Regions from separate parts of the Homo sapiens genome. Here regions 2, 3 and 4 are each linked to region 1. The links are contacts of gene promoters, found by promoter capture Hi-C in human tissues and cell types (Jung and others, 2019). All regions are on one chromosome and are shown on one strand. Each heading gives the region's core, a stretch centred on a gene start or on the middle of the fragment in contact. The rest is flanking DNA. Distances are from core to core; before and after follow the strand shown.

Region 1 (5,457 bases), core at 1,795-4,294:
TGGAGTCAGTAAAAAGATCAGTGGTTGCCACACTTGGGGACAGGGGTGGTAGAGGAATGGCTAGGCCGAAGAGAGGATTTTTACTCTTTATGATACTATATTGGTGAACGCATGTGGTGGCACTCCTGTAATCCGAACACTTTTGGAGGCCGAGACGGGAGGATTGCTTGAGGCCAGGAATTTGAGACCAGCCTGGGCAGCATGGTGAAACCCCATCTCTACAAAAAAACAACAAAAAATTAGCCAGGTGTGGTTCCACACACCTGTGGTCCCAGCTACTTGGGAGGCTGACGTGAGAGCATCCCTTGAGCCTGGGAAGTTGAAGCTGCAGTGAGCCATGATGGCGACACTGCACTCCAGCTTGGGCAAGAGTGAGATACTGTGTCTAAATAAATAAATAAATAAATTTATTTGTCCAAGCCCATAGAGAATGAACACTAAGAGTGAGCACTAATGTAAACTACTGACTGGATGATAGTAACATGTCAATGTAGGTTCATCAATTTTAACAAATGTACCACTCTGGTGAAGGATGTTCATAATGGGGAGGCTATGCACGAGTGGGGTCAGGAGGTAAACGGGATATCTTTGTACCTTCCTCTCAATTTTGCTGTAAAACTAAAAATGCTTAAAAAAAAAAGTCTTAAAAAGAAAATCAAGAGTTAAGATGTACAGAATTGAGTGTCAGATGACTGAAGTTTTGGTCCCAGTTTAAAGTCTTACCCCTCCTCTATGCAATGAGGAGACTGAATTAGACAATCCGTGTCTTCTACCTCTTAATTTCTTGTTCTTAATCCCAATCTTTGAAGTGCACACAAAATGTTACCAGAATACTCTGTGCCATAGCTGCATACCAAAAGTAGTAAGTAGAGCCCAGAGCTATCAAAATGTTCTAGTAAATGAAGCTAATTTGGTAAGTTTTTCAAATGTTTTAGAGGAATGTTTCAACCAAAACGTTTTTTCAGTAATATGAAACATTTTAGGTCTGTATATGAAACTGCATCCAAGGTCAGGTGATCTCTAAACATTCAAGGCCCAAGGGTATTAGAAGAGCCCAAAATACTCAAACACCTAAGGATGCTCCTATGCTGAAATGGTGTTATGCTACATAATTTCAACGCCATGACAATCAAGATAGCACAACAAAGTCTCACCTACAGCCAGGAGAAAGAACAACCCGCTATCTTGTAATCAAGATTCACTACCACAGTGGTTCCTAGACATTTTCCATTATAAAGACTATACAGAACTACAAAGTTTTTAAGATGGTGAAATGGTTTGGATCTGTGTCCCCGCCCAAATCTCATGTCGAATTGTAATCCCCAATGTTGGAGGTGGGGCCTGGTGGGAGGTGACTGGATCATGGGGGCGGAGTTCTCATGAATGGCTTAGCATCCTCCTCTCCCCAGCACTGCATAGAGATGATTTCTCAACAGATGCGGTTGTTTAAAACTGTGTAGCAACTCTCCCCGTCCCTCTCTTGGTCCCGCTCCTGCCATGTAAGACGCCTGCTCCTGCTTTGCCTTCCACCATGAGTAACAGCTCCCTGAGGCCTCCCCAGAAGCAGATGCCGCTAAGCTTCCTGTACAGCCCATAGAACCGTGAGCCAATTAAACACTTTTCTTTATAAATTACCCAGCCTCAGGTTTTTCTTTATAAAAGCCATGCAAGAACTGGCTACTACAGATGGCAAGTGTCATCATTTCGTAAATGTTAAGTCTCCTTTGGTGTGAGACACACACAGCTTGCAAATAATTGTTGAATAAAAAAGCGAGTTCAAGAAACGTAGCACATTCGTTTTACGTGCATTTTCCTCATTTTGCTACTCAGTGGCTAAAACTTTGTCACAGGCAAGCCCAGAAATTGTCAGGCTGCAACCTAAGCTTATTGTTATTTCATTATGTTTACTACTCATTCAATCTGATTCATAACCTGAGTTTTTCAGCCCCCTCCCCGCCCCAGCGGTCTAGAATACTTTCCTCCCATCTCCGCTTCTCAAAAGCACCTTTTCTTTTGAATGCCTTTAGAATCTCTAACAACTATCAAGGACCATTTCCTACTCTTTCTGCTGTAAGTTATTTATGCATCTCTTTTATCTCATTCACTAGAGTAATAATTTTCATGCCCAGTACTCGCTCACACATCTTGCCTTTTGTGATTTCAATTAATCTGTAAGGTTGTAGATAATAATGATCCCCTTTTATAAACGACGGCACAGAGAAGAAAAGTAACTTGTTCTAGGTCACCCAACTTCCGACGGAACAAAACTGACATTCCAGTTTTGTGTTGGACTCGAAAGCCAACTATTTTCACGCCATTCATTCCCTCACAGTGTCTATGGGGGCCAGGTCCTACAGGGCGCTGGAGACACGAAAGCAAATGCTGCCATCCCATTTTCAAACGGGAGCCTGCTTGTCGCTAAAACCAGGCGCGCTGCTGGCTCTCCGGCACAGGGACCGCGTCGAGGCCTCTGTGCCTCCCTCCCACTTGGGTGCGCAGGAGAGGGGTGCGGACCTGGGGCGGCCGATACCAAGGGGCGGGTGAGTCGGATGCGTCCAAGGGCCTAAGTCTTCGGAGTTACATGGCGGGGCCAGGTGTGGGGGGGGTTCCCCGAGCCCTCGCGGTTCTAAGTGGGCACTGGGGGCCCGCGTACAGCAGGCAAGAGTGCAAACCAGCAGCGCCAGAAAGAGCGACGAGGTGAGGGAAGAAAAAAGGGGCGGGCAAGAGAGAGCTGGGAACCCTAAAGCGCCAACTGCGTGCGCGGCGCACGCGCATCTGGGATCGGCGGAGGGTGCTGGGTCTCCAGGCCCCACGTCTGAGGGCTGCCGCTTGCCCTCCGGCCCGGCCGGGAACAGCGAGGGTTCTCGCTGTCCTGCCGCCGGGCCCTGCGTCGCCCCACTGTTTTCCCGGCTGAGTACTCACCACCCGATTGTCCCGCTTCCCCATGGTGCTGGATCGAGCGCACAGTAGCACGCCGAGGGAAACCGGGCCGGAGAGACTGCCGAAGAGGGCCTGCCGCAGGTCCTCTTGCCGCCTCCCCACTCCGCCTAGAGAGCGGCACCACGCGGACTCGACGGCCGCGCTCTGCTACAGCGCCCCCTATCTCTGTGGAGGACAGGCCGGCTCCAGAGATCGCTGCAGTTGGCGGAGCGCCTGCAGGAGTCCGGTCGTTCATTAGGCACCCAAGAGCAGGCGACGCTGCGCTTCTGCACCGGAGCCCCACCAAGGCAGCTCGCTTCAGTTTGGCCTTGGATTGTTTTGCTTTCTTCCATTCTTTTTTTTTTTTTTTTTTTTTTTTTTTTTTTTAGACAGACTCTCGCTCCGTCGCCCAGGCTGGAGTGCAGTGGCACGATCTAGGCTCACTGCAGCCTCCACCTCCCGGGTTCAAGCGATTTTCCTGCCTCAGCATCCCGAGTAGCTGAGATTACAGGCGGCCGTCAACACGCCGGGCTAAATTTTTTGTATTTTTAGTAGAGACAGGGTTTTACCACGTTGGCCAGGCTGGTCTATAACTCCTGACCTCAAGTGATCCGCCCGCCTCGACCCAAAGTGCTGGGATTACAGGCATGAGCCACTGCGCTTGGCCTTTCTTCCATTCTTGATACACTGAAATACTCATTCGAGGGGACACAAAGATTCTCCCGATGCTTATTTTGTGCTTGACAGAGTGCAAGTGCTGGGGACAAAGTGAGGACCAAAGAGCCTTGGTCCCTCACGGAGCCCATCAGCTGGTGGGGGGAAAGGCAGTGCTGTCATAGACGCTGCTAACGAAATCACCCTTTAATTTCAATCCCATTCATTCATCACCTGTGCATTCATTTCACACTAATTTTTGAACATGTAGTTTGTACAGTTTTCACTAACTGGGTGGCTGGAAGCTGGAGCTGGGTAGGGCACAAAGATGATTAAGAAAAATCCCTATCGTCAAGGAGCCTGTTTATAAACTCGTAAGGGCAATAAACACACACAGGGCCAACTTTACTGCATAGCATATCGTAATATTGGCACTACTGCACTGCAACTTTAAGGAAGATGATCTGGGCTCCAGAGAAGATAATCATATTTAGTAAGTATTTATAGATAAAGCGACCCCTCTGGGTTCATCTTAGCAAGTATCATTAGGAAGTAGTTGAAAATCAATTAGGATCTTCTCCGGACTCTTGGAAATGGCAAAATGGGAATTACACTAATTACATACAAGAACATGCTTTAAAATCATCTTTCCCGATCTCTGCCTCCCTCCCTCCCTGCATTTTTCATGCTACACTATATGACAGATGCTCCCAACTACCATCTTCTGTCTCAAAACTTTTCCAAACTCTCACATGCAGTCCTTGGTGGTTCTGCTCCCTACTAAGTGTTGATTCTTCCTCAGTAACCCACTTTCCAAAATGAGGCCTCCAGTCTCTCATTTCTCCTCCTCCTCCATTACCCCCGACTTAAGCTGGGGACTCTGACTGAAGACAGGCTTCTTTTTATACACAAGAGGAAGAGGAGAACCTATTAATATTAAGTTATTCTTTCTTTCCTGGCTTATTTTTCATGTTTTAAATATTCTAGGCATTTGACAGATATTATTTTTAATACTCCAACATGATAAGCATGATAATACCTGTGAGAGAATATAGTTTTTTTTTTCCCTCTTCAGCTCCTTCTTACCTTTCACTTCCTTGGTTGGCTGATTGTACAGAACACAGAGATTTTTAAAAATATGGTATAAGTCAACAGAAAGGTTGTGTTTCCTTTAGAAGTCTCTCTCTCTCTGCGAGTGTACACAACCCCTCCTGGATGAAACGTGAATCCCTGGGGGGACAGAGAAACAAGAAAATGACCAGGGGCCTGTGAAGATAAGGAAGATGGCAAGAGCTATCGGGAGCTCATCTGAGTGGACTACATAAAGAACAAATCAGTCCAAGACTTCTCAGGATATAATTCAGTGACAGTAGAAATCTTTACACATTCTCTGCACATGTGTGATCTGCTAATAAATACATTTCTGTCCTAGCAGTGGGCCTACATGCCCTCCCGAATGTTCTAGGCATAACCAGGAGATTACATTCCATTTTGTGGATGAGAAAAACCGAGGCGAAGGGAAGCCGAGTAATTTGTGCCAGCTTCCACAGCAAGAAAGCAGAGAAGCTGGGGATTCAAACACAGGTGTGTCAAACATGAAAGCATTTACAAGATGCAGTCTCTATTAAATACACACATAGACACACAGGCACGCGTAGACACACACACACACACACACACACACACCCACCCACACCATGAAAGCATATGCTTTCCTTACAAAATCACACTGCCTTTGGGAGGGGAGAGAAGAGAGGGAGGATTGAGAAGTGGCATTTCAGGTGGATTGTGACCCTGGGCCAGCTTCCCTCAGAGGAACTGAGAGGGAAGGACATTACAGAGGGAATAGCCCGCGTAAAAGGAGTGGTGATGTGGTCAGGTTTG
Region 2 (4,918 bases), core at 1,230-3,729, 360 kb after region 1:
CTTTTCCTATAGATAAGATTTATTGAGATACCTAATCATAGAATTGTCCCCACTGTCTGACAGAATCCAATCTAAAATGAACTTACCCATCCCTAGAGCCTCCCCAAAGAACTCAAGCCCAAATTTTATAATAGGTTATTTCTAACACCATCTTACTGGGTGCCTCATGGTTTCCCCATAATGAATGTTATCCCATGCAGCAATGCATAATAAACCTAACTTAATCAACTACAGTTGTGTTTTTGGTAGTCTTTGGCTGGAGGCGTTGATATCCTATCAGAAAAGAAGGAAACAGTGTCCTACACAAATGCATACACACACTCTGTCTCTTAACAGATTTATTATTTTCAGTTTGGCTCTGGGGGTTAGACAGGAGTCACAGTCACAGAACCCTATTAGTGTTTTCTCCAGTTAGGATCCATAGTGGCCCCTGGCTTTCCTAAAGGAGGAGATGGCCTTGTCTCCCTCTGCACGGGCACAGCTCTGTTCATGTTGATTTGAGCACTAATAGTGGAACCCAGGGCACAGTCTATACTATGCTGGCCCTGTGTCCTCAGCAGAAGTCTTCTGCTTGTGTTGTTGTCACCAAATCCAATGATGCTTTCAATGGCATAAGGAAACTACTTAGCTTGTGGTGACTGTGGTGTCTGGCTCTGGGAGAGCAATTCTTCTCTTGAGTTGTGGGCAAGCCTGGCTCATGGGCTGAGGCCAAGGGTGGGATAGAGATAAATGCTTTTCTCTTCTCTGCAGTACCCAGCTAGAACCAGAGTCGCTGAACCAGATCTAGCATTACAAATATTGTATTCATGTGTAGCTTGTATTCATTTAGTTTCAGGGAACATCAGTGTTTTCTTGGCACTGGATTCTATTTGCACTTAAAGCCTGTGATTTTTCTTTTTTGCTACCCGTTTACATACTAACTGTTGTCCCTTACAACAGACTTTATCTTTCCATTTAATTTAATAAATATTTATTCAGCAACAATCAAAGAGCTGTGAAATACAAAGATGAATGAAATATAACTTATCTAAAGAACTAGATAATCTAGAAAATGGGATGAGACATGTACATGAATAGCTGGGTGTTAATCTTTCAGCCAACAAATATTTATTAAGCAAATACTTGTTCAAAGAAGTTCAAAGGAGAATAATCTATTTATTGAGCACCTTCTATGTGTTAATACTGAATCAAGAACTTTTCCTTGGATAGCACCCTTAATTCTCAGAACAACGCTTTGAGATTGATGTTATCACTCAGTTTTGCAGAGGAGATAGCTGTGGCTGTGGTATAACTTGCCAAGATCCCAGGGCTAGTTACGTGTGAAAGCCTGGATTCAAACCCAGACACGGTGACTTTGGATCTGTGCCCTTAAAAAACACTTATCATTTGTGTTTTGTTATTCTTAGGGTTCACAGTTGTTTGGGATGTTGTTGATCTCTGAGAACCTCTGCTTTGGGGAAGCTTAGAAAAATTGTGATGCAAGTGGATGTTTTAGAAGGTGTTTGAATGATTTTTCTGTAGTTACTTCACCTAGGAGCACATGTGAACACACAGGCACCAGAGCAGACCCTGGCATCTGCAGCTATGACTGTACTCTCGTTGTTCTATGTATTCTGTACAGTCTTGGGAGGTTATTTTTAATGCAACATGCCAGAGTGGCATGTTGAAAGAGCCATAGTAACCAGCTAACAGTAACAGCAGGGCCTGCCAAGTAAAAGTTCCGTAAATCAGTCATAAACGCAGTTACAAAATCGGGCCCAGTGTCGTGTGCACGAGGGAGTGTCTCTGGAGAAGGCACAATTCATGCACAGTTTCATGGGATCTCCATGAAATTCCATGGGAGTAGAGAGCTCTGTGGCCATAAAAAAAAAAAAAAAAAAAAAAAAAAAAGGACAGAAAGCAAAAGAGGCTTTCTAATGGGAAACTTGCTCCCATGCCATCAGGTAACTCAGAAAAGCTAAGGAAAAGATGCTCAGAGTAATGAATGCTTTAGATACAAAGTGTCCTCTTGTCTCATGTTTTTAATACTTTTGGAATCATTCCTTTTCTGCTACCACAGCCCACATTCAGGCCTTAATGACTTGGTATACTGCAAAGCCTCATTGCTTTGATGTATCCTCCCTCAAATCCACCAAACGCAAAACAGTAATAATTATCCTAGGCAGAATTTTGAATATCTTACTTATCTTGTGAGAATTTTACAAGGCGCTCCCAAGCACTACCAACCCCCACGAAAAATTCATAATTTGAAACACTAGAGGCTTTCTCCTATGATAGACTTATAGAAAACTCTTTGAGGGAGCAAGATGCTTTACTTGGGATTTGGAAATTGTGAGGCTTTGGGGTAAGGACTTTCTTGTCAGGCAATAGGGACATCGCCAATGAGTACTAACAAATAATGTGTTGCATTTGAAAAGTCAGAGAAATCACCCTCACTGATTTGGCTCCCTGCTGTTACAGAAGATCTGGGCATAGGGAGCAGGTCATTCATGACTGACAGTATATTATACAAGTATAAAATACACCACAGGCAGGGAATTGGAGCATTGACAAACTTAATGCTCGATAAAAGAGTTAATCTGTGCTTACTGGAGTGGACTATGTTGCCTCTTCCCTTTGATGCCCCTTCTGATTTTACAAATAGCTGGCTCTCTCCTTGCTTACCTATTTGTTTAGAAATCACTATCCTCTTTGTAGAGGAGTGTTAGGTAGGGGAAGAAAAGGATGAGATAAACCCAAAGGGAAAACTTGGAGCAATGCCACCACCTGAAGAGCAATTTTCATTTAGATAAAACCCCTCTGCCTATATAACCTCGGTTATGACCTGGGAAGATATGATTTAGCTTACAACTTTACAGAAATATTGGTACTGGTAAAATGAGGTGTGGCTGTGTAACCCGAAGGACTAGAGATAAGTTTAAGTGGAAAGCTCTTTCCAATATGCTTGATGAGGACGCCTCCCTTGATTGGGAATTCCCCACTTCGGGTGTTCTCCCAGAATGAGATTCTTATTGAACAAAAGGGAGTTATGAGGCTGATTTTTCTCTGTTGACTATGAATGTTTTTATATTTCAGGAATTTTAATATTTTACACAGTTTTGTTTCTTATTGTGGTAATATATACATAATGCAAAATTAACCACCTTAGCCATCTTTAAGTGTTGCAACTCAGTGGCAATTAAATATATTCACAGTGTTGAACAACCATCAGCACTAGCCATTTCCAGAACTTTTTCATCATGCCAAATAGAAACTCTGTACCCCTTAAACAATAATTGCCCATTTCTCCTTTCCCTAGCCCTTGGTGACCTCTATTTTACTTTCTGTCTCTGTGAATTTTCCTATTCTATGTATCCCATATAAGTGGAATCACAGAATATTTGCCCTTTTGTGTCTGGCTTCTTTTGCTCAGCATGTCTTCAAAGTTCATCCATATTGTAGCTTGTATCAGAATTTCATTTCCTTTTAAGGCTGAATAATATTCCATTGTATGTAATATACCCATATTTCTTATCCATTGCTGGAGTTTTGGGTCATTTTCACCTTTTGACTATCATGTATAATGCTGCTATGAACATTGGTGCACACGTATCTGAGTCTGTCCTTTCCTTTCCTTTGGGTATATATCTAGCAGCGGAATTGCTAGGCCTTTTGACGATTCTATGTTAACTTTTTGAGAAACTTTGGAGACTTGTAAAGAGAGTATAAATCAAAGAGGCAGACTCATTTCAGAGTCTGAGCTGGAACCCAAATGAGGAGTATTAATAGGATTTAGTTAAAAAAAAAAAAGGACTGTTGACCCTGATGTGAATCGTTTGAGTGGAGCGGTGGAGAGAGAAACCAGGCATATTTAAGATGGAGGAATCCTGAGCATGCTTAAGTGTTGTGGGAGATATGAAAGGGAGGGGACAGTCAGCAGAGTGAGGTCTCCAAGAAGGCAGGAAAAGGAGTTGCCTTGGCCTGCTTTGAGAATCTACCTCTTTATAATGAGAGGCAAGGACAGCGTCAGGTGCAACCCAGTGTAACCAATCAAAGGTATTTACTGAGTTTGGCACTGTGCAGGAAGATAAAGTGAAACACTACTTGGATTTTACCATAAATGACACAGTGGAAAGGCTTGAACCTCGAACCAAAAGTAGGGTAGAAAATACTCAATGTCACAAGGGAAAGGTAAAAAGCAGGTGTTAGATCCTCAGCAGAAGGACAAGGTACTTTCAGCTGTAGAGGAGGACAAATAACGAGGAAAGCCTTTGCCGCAGTGTAAACTATTCTGGATGGGATTTGAGATCTGGATAGGCATTGACACCTGGCAAAGTGGGGGAAAGTTCATGCTACCCAAACTGTATTCTACCACATACTTAGGTATTATATGAAAAGTGGGAACAGTGGTCAAATTAATTTAGAAAGTGCTGTATCTAGGAAAACCATATTGTACAATGTAAGACATTTTTAAAAGCTAAAAGGGACACTGGTAATTATGCTGGGATAACAGGTATACATTGGGACTGTTCTAGGCCGACTGAGATGAGTGGTTATCTATACCACTTCTATACCATATTTTACCTTTGAAGATTTAAATGAACATTAGAATTGTAAAAGGTTCTGAGACTTACTATAGTAAGGAAACCTATTTTACGCTGGTTAATCCAGCATTTTCCAAATTTATTTGACCATGGAATCCCCACCCTACTTCCCCTCCCCTTCCGAGGAGTATTTATTAGCACCTAATAAATACTCCAAAGGCAGAGAGATGAAAGAGATGTGGGGATCAGGGAGGATTTGGTTTGGCAGAAAGAAAGCAATGGAAGATGAGAAATGTGGGTTGAGCCATGTCTTAGTGGCTTTTGAGGGCCAGATTTAGAACTTTTACTTGATGAAAGCCTTTTCTCATAGCACCAAATGGTGCTGTGTGCCTACA
Region 3 (5,422 bases), core at 185-2,684, 390 kb after region 1:
TATTTCTCTATTAACACCTTATTTTGCATTAAATAGATATTTTCTAGTGTATCATTTTAATTCTCTTGTCCTTTATTTCACTGTCTTTTGGAGTTATTCCTTAGTGGTTGCCCTGGGGATTACAAATAACATCTTAAATAATTAATCTAGTACATATTAATATCAACTTAATCTCAGTAGTATACAAAAACTTGGCTTCTATATAGCTCTGTTCTCTCCTTTTTCTTTGGTGCTATTATTGTCATACAAATGACCTCTTTATATATTATATGTCCATTTATGCAGATTTATAATTATCATTTTATACAGTTTTCTTTTAAATCAGATAGAAAACAGAGTTAAAAATGAAAAAAATACATTTAAACTGTCTTTTATATTTATCCACTGTATTATTTGCTAGGCTGCCATAACAAAATACTCCAGACTAGGTGGTTTAAACAACAGGCATTATTTTCTCATATTTCTGGAGGCTAAAATCCAAGATCAGAGTGTCAGCAGGTTTGGTTTCTCCTGAGGCCCCTTTGGCTTGCAGATGGCTACCTTCTTTCCATGTCCTCATATGGCCTTTTCTTCATGTGTGTACATCCCTGGTGTCTCTCTCTCTCTTCTTATAAGGGCACCAGCTATGAGGGCGACCCCTCATCCATAATGATTGGATCATTTAATCTTAATGACTTCTTTAAAGGCCCTATCTTCAAATATAGTTACATTCTGAGGTGTACTGGGTGTTAGGACTTCAACACATAAATTTTGGGGTGCTACAATTTAGTCCATAACACTATTGATATAATTACCTTTATCAATGCTCTTTATTTCTTCAAATGGATTTGAGTTACTGTCTAATGTCCTTTAATTTTAACCTGAAGGACTCACAGTACTTCTTGTAATCCCATATTTCACAGTATTTCTTGAAAGACATGTTTGCTAGTGATGAGTTCTCTCTTTTAGTTTATGTGAGAATATCTTAATTTGTTCTTTACTTATAAAGGATAGATTTGCTAGATATAGAATTATTTTTTGATGTCCTTTTTCTTTTAATAATTTGTATACTTCATCCAACTGCATTCTGGCCTCCATGGTTTCTGATGAGAAATTGGTGGCAGATATTATTGAGGACCCCTTGTATGTGATGAGTCACTTCTTATTTGCTGATTTCAACAGTTGGTTGTGTCTAGGTGTGGCTATCTTTGAGTTTATCCTACTTGGAGTTTGCCAGGTTTCTTAGACATGTTGATTAATGTTTTTCATCAAAGTTGGGAAGTCAAAAAGCTTGGGCTATTATTTCTTCAAATATTTTTTCTCTCTCTCTCTCCTCCTTCTTGTAATCCCGTTATTCATATGCTGGTATTTACTGATATTCTCTATTCTGTGCAATGTAATTCGCATACTTTCCTTTAATTCTTTAGGTGTGGTTTCCTCTCATTCTTTGAATGTATTCAAAATACCTGATTTTAAATCTTTAATTAGTCCAACAGCTGTCTCAACATCATGTCCCAACATTCTTTAGGGACAGTTTTTGTTGGCTGCTTCTTTACCTGTGTATAAACTATAGCTGCCTTTTCCTTTGTATGTCTCCTGGTTTATTTGTTTTTTTTTTTTTTTTTTTTTTGGGAAACCAAGCACTTTACATAATGCAATTAGACAACTCTGGAAATCAGATTTCCCCTGCCCTAGAGTTTGTTGTTATCATCACAATTTGTTGTCTAGTGACTTTCCTGAAAAAAATCTTTAACGTGTAGATACTTTGTTATGTGATCACTGAAGTCTCTGCTTAGTTCACTTAGTGATCAAATAATAATTGGATAGACATTTTCTTAAATGATTGGAATCAATTCATTTCCAATCCTTTTTCAAGGGTCTCTGTGCATGTATGTTGGCAGGAAGTCTACAACTCTGCTGTAGCCTCACTTTCTGCTTGTGTAAAACCTCAAGGCTAGCTAGATGTAAGAGCTTCAGGCCTTCTCAGTTCTTTCCTGGGCATGCACAAAACCCTATGCAGGTGTGTGGCCTTCTGGATTACCAGAAATATGTCAGAGCTTTTCTAAACACCCAATGGCCATCTCCTTCTCCAGTTCTATCTCTTTTTTCTTTCTTATTTTTTCTTTCATTTTTTATTGTAATTAATTGACTACAGTGCTTATGTGCAGTTCCTTTTACCTTCAGTTGTGTAGACTCTGAAGCTACTTAGGCGAGCACCTTTTTTGCATGCTCATTTCAGTGAGGTTATGTCATGCATTTGTAATACAGTTAGATTCTCTATTCACAGTTTGTATTTTTTCCTGGAATTCCCCCAATCTCCTAAATGATTTTTTAAAATAATTTGTATATATTAAGGCTCATTCTTTGTACTGTAAAGTCACTTGGGATTTGACAAATGCATAATGTCATGTATCCACCATTACAGTATTATACAGAATAGTTTTCCCATCCTAAAATTTCTCTGTGTTTAATCTATTCATCCCTTACCACCCCACCCCCAAATCCCTGGAAACCATGACTTTTAAAACTGTCTTTATGTTTAAGTCTTTTCCAGAATGTTATATAATTGGAATCATACAAACGTAGACATTTCAGACTGGTTTCTTTCACTTAGGAATATGCACGTCTTCTCATGGGTGATAGCTTATTTCTTTTTTATTGCTGAATAACATTCTATTGTATGGTTATCCATTCACTTATCTATTCATCTTGGTTGTTTCCAGTGTTTTGTGATTATAAATAAAGCTGATGTAAACGTTCACGTGCAGGTTCTAGTGTGGACATAATTCTTCATATCATTGGGTAAATACCTAGGAGTGCTATTATTGGATCATATGGTAAGATGTAAGAAACTTCCAAACTGTCTTCCAAAGTAGCTACATCTTTTTGCATTCCCAGCAGCAATGAATGAGCATTCCTGTTGCTCTGCAACCTCATTAACATTTGGTATTGTCAGTTTATTGAATTTTAGCTATTCTAATATAATAAGTAGTGGCATTTTATTGTTTTAATACAGAATTTCCCAATAAAATGATGTTAAGTATCTTTTCAAGTGTTTATTTGCCATATATTTATCTTCCTTCTCAGCTGCTGCTTTTTTTTCTTTTCTTTTTTTTTTTTTTTTTTTTTTTTTTTTTTTTTTTTTTGCCACAACTGTTAGCACTGCCTCAGGCAGCTGCAATGTTAAATGATTGTTGCTGAATTGTTTGACAAATATGTTGTGGAAAAGGATGCTCACATTAAGTGAGGTTTCAGGTCAAATAAAGACAAGACCTCCTAATGGAGTTTCCAGGAAACTAACAGACCAACATAGATAATGACAATTCTCTGAGTATGGTGCTTTTGGAGAGATCAGATTCTATTCTGCTACCATCAATGGCTGCTAGGCTTCTGGTTTCACTATAATTGTGGGGATTTTGGTTTTTAAGGATATTGTGGAATCAGGGAGAGGGGCATGGGATTAAGCAAATTAAAATGCCACAGATACTGCTGTTCTTAAAAAGATTCAACGATTTTTCCTTGGATAAGCCCTCATTGGATTATTGCAAGACTTTGATTAATTTCTAGAGTCCTTAAAAGTTGATTTGGATACTTTGCCAATGTTTTTATTACTTTTATGGAAGGGCATATTTTCATAGGTCATTACTGCACCATTCTTGTTGATGCCCCTCTTCATTTATTACGCTTTATTTATATTTGTTGGCATCATTTTTCCATTGTCTCCTGACCTCCATAATTTCTGTGAGAAGTCAATTATTTTATGTTGTTCCTTTGGAGGTAGTGTGTCCTTTTCCTCTAGCTGCTTTTAATATTTTCTCAGTTTTTATGGTTTTCATCAGTTTAACTATTAGGTGTTTAAGTGTGGTTTCTTTGTATTGCTCCTCCTTGGGATTTACAGTGCTTCTTGAATCTGTGGCTTAATGTTTCCTGTCAGTTTTAGAAAATATTTAGCCATTATCTTAAAATATTGCTTCTGCTTCATACTCTTTCTTTTTTATTTTTCTTCTTTAATTATATATACATTATATCTTTTCAGCTTATTTCATACACAATTTTCTGTATTTTCCTTATTTAAATCCCTGTGATCTAGACATTTTCTGATTATCTTCCAGTTCGCTAGTCCTCTTTTCTGCTGTACTAAATTTGCAGTTAAATCTATTGTGTCCTTGATTTCAATTTTTGTACCTTTTCAATCTGTAATTTCCATGTGCTATTTTTTCTATTAGTTCTAGTTCTATGGTGAAGTTCTTCATCTTGTTATCTGTTTTTTCAATATATATTACAGTAATTTTAAAGTTCAAGTCCGTTAACTCTAAAAGCTGGGCTATTTATTCTTATGTTGTATAATCTGAGTACCATAGTTTCCTATGCCAATTTAATAAACTCATAGAAAATAGTCATTAAGGGGTTATATAACTTAAGTCTTTTACATTTCCATCTGAATTTGTGAACCTTGAGTTGTGTTTCCATTTTGTTTCTTCGATTGCTGACACCATGGAATTGTGTTTTTACTGAAAACAAACAAAAAATCATTTGAATCTAAGACTCCAAACGAGGTCACATAGATCCTTTCCTGCTTTTTCTCTTTCACGTTTCTCCATTTGTTTCCCCCTCTGTATTGTCTTTTTTTTTTTTTTTTTCCAGGTGGACACATTTTTCCAAACCCAGAGGAAAGAGAGCTCCTCTTTGTGATGGTTTCAAATCATCTCAGGATTGAGATTTGCTTTTACCTCTGAATCAATCGATGTGACCAGAGATACTGACTGCTTGATTATAATGACTGGACAGATCTAGCATCAAGACCCCCAATAGGTCTTAGTCCATTTGGGCTGCTATAACAAAATACCTCAGACTGGGAAACTTATAAGCAACAGAAATTGCTCACAATCTTGGAGGCTGGGAAGATCAAGATCTAGGCACCTGCAGACTCAGTGTCTGGTGAGGTCTTACTCTCTGCTTCATAGATGGCTCTTTCTTGCTGTGTTCTTGAGCAGAAGAAGGGACAAACATGCTCCCTCAGGCTTCTTTTATAAGGGCACTAATCCTATTCATGAAGGTGGAGCCCTTATGACCTAACCACCTCATGAGGTTCCCAGCTTTTAACACTATTGCACTGGAGATTAGGTGGCCACATATGAATTTGGGAGGACACAAACATTCAGATCATAGCAGCTCCTCATGAAGCTGGTGGTAGAATCAGCCAGACCCACCCGCAGGGACTGAGAGTTGGGAAAAAGTGGTTTCTCAAAGGAAAACTGAGGTATTCTTACTAGAAGAGGGAAGAGATGGTGGAAAAGCAAAAACAAGATGACCAATGTCTCTGATGTATTAGATCATAAGAATCATCAGAATGAGTGTTAAAACTGAGATTTCTGGGCCCTACTTCATTCTTATTGAATCAGAATCATTAGAGGAGTTGTCCAGAGATCAGGGGTTTAAATAA
Region 4 (5,147 bases), core at 976-3,475, 470 kb before region 1:
AACTCACAGAGGCAAAAGGAGATTAATGGTTGCCAGGGGCAGCAGTCAGGGAGAATGAAGCATGACTGCTAATGGGTACCAGCTCTCTTTTGGGAGTGATGTAAATGTTCTAAAATTAAATTATGATGATGGTTTCCCAACTCTTAATATGCTAAAAACCACAAAGTGTACATTTTAAATGGATGGATTTATGCTATGTAAATATATCAGTTAAGCTGTTATTTTAAGTTACTAAAAACAAGAATGAGTGTTGAGACATCACTACTGAGCTTACAGAAATAAAAAGGATTATGAGAATACTATGAACAATTGTATGCCAACAAATTAGGTAACCTAGATGAAATGGACAAATTCCTAGAGAGATATAAACTACTGAAACTGACATAAGAAGAAATGGAATATCTGAATAAACCTGTAACAAATAAATTGAATTAGTAAGTAAAGTCTTCTCAGAAAGAAAAGCACAGATCTAGATGATTTCACTGCTGAATTTTTGCAAATATGTAAAAAAGGATTAACACCAATCATCCACAAACTCTTCCAAAAATTAGAAGAAAAAAAGAATACTTCCAAATACATTCTATGAGATGAGTATGATCCTGATATCAAAACCAGTCAAAGACATCACAGTGAAACTAGAGATCAATATCCTTTATGAATATAGATGCAAAAATCCTCAACAAAACACCAGCAAGTTTATATGTAGTAACATATAGAAAGAACTATGCACCATGACAAAGTAGGATTTATCCCAGGAATACAATTAACATCTGAAAATCAGTGTAATGTGCCATATTAATATAGGACCAAAAGCACAAAAGATAACAGGAAGATGACATCACCAAGGTTTGCTTCCAAGATGGAATGTCAGGTTGTGCAGTGAGTTGTCCTCTCTTCCTTTCCACCCAGCAAGTTGCATGTAGTATTTGTAAATGTCTTGTCCTCATTACTACTACTACTACTACTTTTAGAAGTCTCTGCTCATGCCCAGGCCACTCTGGACATACAGAATTCTAAGTAATTCAGAGGCTTCTACACTTCATAAGACACACAACATGCACATAATATCCTCTATGTACAGAAGCCAGACTTTGAAGCAGAGGAAGTAAGTACCAAAGAAACATCCCCAAGGATCTCTAAGCCATCAACCCAAAACATATCTGATAAAGCTTAATGGCAAGAAGCAATAACATTAAGATATTTTAGGTAAGGTTATAGGGAATTTGCTAAAAATAGAGAAGCTGATCAATTTAAGCTATAGTATATAGAAAATCTCAAATTGTCCCTTTTAAAAATTAGCCACAGATCCTCAAAGTCATAAGGCAGCAATGAAACTGAAAAATCCAACAAACCTGGTCATAAGTTAAAGGAGGCAGATTCTCTCCACAGACTGTTTTCTGTTCTAAATAACATTTTTTTTGAAGTGTTTTGTCTCTGGCCAAAAAGAAGCCCATCCAAGCACTAGTAGTTGAGGATGTATGCTGCCCTGCCAAGAGTAATCCAATAAGCATCCCTGCTACTTCATCATCAGTCAAAGGACGCCCATCCCTAAGGAATGAACCAAAGACACAAATTTAACATTTTGGCAGATACATTTCATGCCTCAACCTTTAAATAAAGTGTCATAATGAATACATTTTTCAGGTATAGTGGTCTCTTATATTTGACTATCACAAGTCAAGAGTTTTTTTTCTCTTAGGGAAGAGACAGACCAGCACAAAACGATTTTGATTACAAAAGACTCCATTACAGTTCATTAGCAAACTTTTACCATACCCAGTCACTGGGATTACAGTAAGACACAGGATGCCAATAGTTTATGTCTCAACAATTTAAAGAGTCCAAAGATCACAGCTACCAACTTATTTTGCCAGCATCACTGTTTTTTAACTGGAAATACTATTTAACTGTGTTTTAATGTGTAATTTCCTGCTTCAGCTTAATATGTTATCTGAATAGCTCTTACTTGTATGTAGCATCTAGTAAAGTTTGGAGAATGTCATCAATTTTTTCTTGAGACTGTCTGCGTTTCTGGATTGCCTTATAGAAAATATCCTTGATTTCCCGATGAGCTCTGTCCCTGCGTCTGTAATTAAAAGATAAAGATGATTTTCTTAAATAAAGAAATAACCTTCTAGGATCAAATTCATTTTGAGAACCAGGACCGAGCATAAAGCATCTTATTTAACCAACTTTAATGACTCTAAAATAATTGACAAAAAAATCAGAACCAGGAACATACTGGAAGTCATGAAAATCTTACATTGTTAAAAATGTCCATAGTCCCTAAGGGCAAGAACTGTGCTTTATTTAACATATATATCCCAGATTCTTAACACATTGCCTGTGTTCAAACTAAAGGCCTAAAACAAGCAAGAAATTCCTTTAGAAGTATTTTCCAGTTCAACAGAAAGTAGGATACTCTTTTAAATTAACATAAAATTCCAATTTTAATACCAAATCAAGTCTTAAAGCAGAAGAGTCACTCTGGTTCTTCCATGGAATCTGGTTCTACTTTTCACTTTCTAATACAATAGTTTTTTGTAGGGGGTGAAAATACTAGCAGATTCAGAAAACAAGCTTCAACTCCTAAACTTTACCTTTAAATAGTATGTTCACTATGTAGCAGGTACCATGTTAAGTGTTTTACATGAATTACTCACTTTTATCTTCCTGTGAGGTACATACTATTAACCTCAAGTTATAGCTAGCTGCATAAGATCACACAGAAAGCAAACATTGGAGCTGGAATTTAAAACTAGGCAGTCTGACTCCCAAGCCCCCTCTTAAATCAAGCCTTCTAAAAAAAACTCCTACTCTGTTTCATTTACAAGACTGTTAATCTGTTATTGAGGATCAACTGAAACCATGTGTACAGAAGAGAAGATGTTGGGGCTTAACTGTATGAATACAGTCGAACCAGGAAAACATAGGCCTGTTTAAGAAAGTGAATTGAATAATCTGGTTAAATTAGTTGGTATGAGTAGAAGAAAGAAAGACTGGGCCAGAATGTGAAGGGCCTAACATAGCAAGCTCTGACTTCATCCAAGAGACAGAGCAGGTAGAAACAGGCAGGTAGAAATGTACATTTATGGGCCAGGTGCAGTGGCTCACGCCTGTAATCCCAGCACTATGGGAGGCCGAGGCGGGCGGATCACAAGGTCGGGAGATCAAGACCATCCTGGCTAACACGGTGAAACCCCATCTCTACTAAAAGTACAAAACAATTAGCCAGGCTTGGTGGCGGGTGCCTGTAGTCCCAGCTACTCGGGAGGCTGAGGCAGGAGAATGGCGTGAACCTGGGAAGCAGAGCTTGCAGTGAGCCGAGCTCATGCCACTGCACTCCAGCCTGGGCGAGAGAGCAAGACTCCATCACCAAAAAAAAAAAAAAAAAAAAGAAATGCACATTTATGGAGAACCCACTATGAGTCCAGGGCTGTGCTGGGTGTTCTAATATAAGATATATGAAAACATTTTGAAACTGCAAAGCTCCTTGCAAATATAAGGTATGATGAGTTCCAGAGAACTTTAGGGAATCTCTCCTGGCTCTTCCTTTTACTCCCACCCCTCTTCCAATCTGTAACTAGATAGAGGGGGCAGAAATAGAAGAAAAGGGACTAGCAATCTATCTCCTCCCCATCTGTCACCTAAACACCAATAAATCAACAAAAGTACAGAAAGCCTACTAATATGCAAAACACTAAGCACTAAGCTATAGATCAAGTCCTAAGAGCAATATTTCTTTATATCAGAGGCAGTCCCTGTCCTTAAGAAACAGAAAATTAAATAAAGGCACAAATATTTAAAACAAAGAAACTTCACAATACAATAAAAAGCCACCAAAGATTTCAAACAAGTGCTAGAGAAGAGCTGTATCACTTTTAGGTATAGTTCAGAGACTTTCCTGAGGATAAGGAATACGTGAGGTAAGCAGGCTTTTAAACTAGGCTGGGCTCAGTGGCTCACGCCTGTAATCCTAACACTTTGGGAGGCTGAGGCAGGTGGATCACCTGAGGTCAGGAGTTTGAAACCAGCCTGGCCAACATGATGAAACCCTGTCTCTACTAAAAATAGAAAAATTAGTTGGGCATGGTGGCACGTGCCTGTAGTCCCAGCTCTCAGGAGGATGAGGCAGGAGAATTGCTTGAACACAGGAGGCAGAGACTGCAGTGAGCCGAGATCACACCACTGCACTACAGCTGGGGCAACAGAGCAAGACTCCATCTCAAAAACAAAAACATAAATAAAATATTAGACTAGACAGACAACAAATCACCTTTTTAATAAACTGAAACTTACTTTAAATGAGCTCATTATATAAAGAAAATTTGTCTTGAATTCTTATAGAAGAAAGGGGATTCATAATCTTACCCATTTTGTATGTTTTACTTGTTTAATTTTTATCTTTGTTAAGGCAAAGCATACCAACACTACAATAATTATACAAAGTTAAATAACCTAGTGTAATATATTCTTTATCCATACCTGAAACTAGGCAAAGGCAGCCAACCTGGTAAGAGCCAGGCTGCATGGCTGAAACCTCCATCCAAATCTGCATACAGCTGTGCTACCTTTTCATTGAGTTGACTTCTGATTTCCTTTCCATGCAAACAATGGCTAGCTGTTAAAATTATGAGCTCAGAAAGAGCTTCAAACACATCTAGGGAGAAAAAAAAGATTATTCTCATTACTATTTCCAAAAAGTGAAAGAAAATTGAGAATTAAAAACAGAACTCAAGAAGAAACAAGATCCTATTCATATCATCAAAAAAAGTCTGTAGACAGACATGTGACTATGTACAACAACAAAGAGGGGCAATAAACCAAACAATGTGAAGCACCCTGTCCCTCTAAACAGCCAAAACAGATCCCAGAAACACATCTCAAAACCCCACTCATGAGCACTTCATCATGAAAAGAATAAATGTGGTTATTTGATTTCCAGGTCACAATAACAAAAGCAGAAAAAAGGTTATTTATAGTGCATATGACAATAATAAGGTACTTCCCAAGGAATAGTAGCCAAAGATCAGATTATTTCCCAGGTTAAAAGTAGGAAGATCAGGGCCAAAATGGAATTACTGGCGATATGTAAAAGAAAACTATAATCACCAATTAGTATATCCCAACACTGGAGACAAATGCAC

What was found. The method cuts DNA at HindIII sites, captures the fragments that hold promoters and counts their contacts. A contact is called where the count stands out against the background at its distance.
Region 2: a fragment that was not itself captured here is called in contact with the fragment with the promoter of FAM133B in region 1 in 1 of the 25 tissues and cell types used here (aorta).
Region 3: a contact is called between a fragment that was not itself captured here and the fragment with the promoter of FAM133B in region 1, in 1 of the 25 tissues and cell types used here (IMR-90 fibroblasts).
Region 4: a contact is called between a fragment that was not itself captured here and the fragment with the promoter of FAM133B in region 1, in 1 of the 25 tissues and cell types used here (pancreas).

The regions. Positions count from the first base shown.
Region 1 is chr7:92,587,346-92,592,802 of GRCh38, forward strand. FAM133B (family with sequence similarity 133 member B) reads right to left here and starts at 3,045. Exons shown (of 11, transcript NM_152789.4): 1 at 2,923-3,045. The coding sequence starts at 2,946. It overlaps LOC105375397 (a long non-coding RNA gene), which reads right to left. Exons shown (of 3, transcript XR_927744.3): 3 at 4,675-4,803. RefSeq lists enhancers at 2,773-2,832, 2,923-3,202. The HindIII fragment of the contact is 9,030 bases long and covers 1,731-5,457 here.
Region 2 is chr7:92,943,147-92,948,064 of GRCh38, forward strand. No RefSeq gene overlaps it. Among named protein-coding and RNA genes, the nearest start is that of CDK6, 110 kb to the left of the region's middle. The HindIII fragment of the contact is 7,796 bases long and covers 1-4,918 here.
Region 3 is chr7:92,979,398-92,984,819 of GRCh38, forward strand. No RefSeq gene overlaps it. Among named protein-coding and RNA genes, the nearest start is that of SAMD9, 140 kb to the right of the region's middle. The HindIII fragment of the contact is 5,699 bases long and covers 1-4,284 here.
Region 4 is chr7:92,121,768-92,126,914 of GRCh38, forward strand. CYP51A1 (cytochrome P450 family 51 subfamily A member 1) reads right to left here. Exons shown (of 10, transcript NM_000786.4): 5 at 4,486-4,660; 6 at 1,967-2,086; 7 at 1,353-1,548. Among named protein-coding and RNA genes, the nearest start is that of CYP51A1, 10 kb to the right of the region's middle. The HindIII fragment of the contact is 6,060 bases long and covers 1-5,147 here.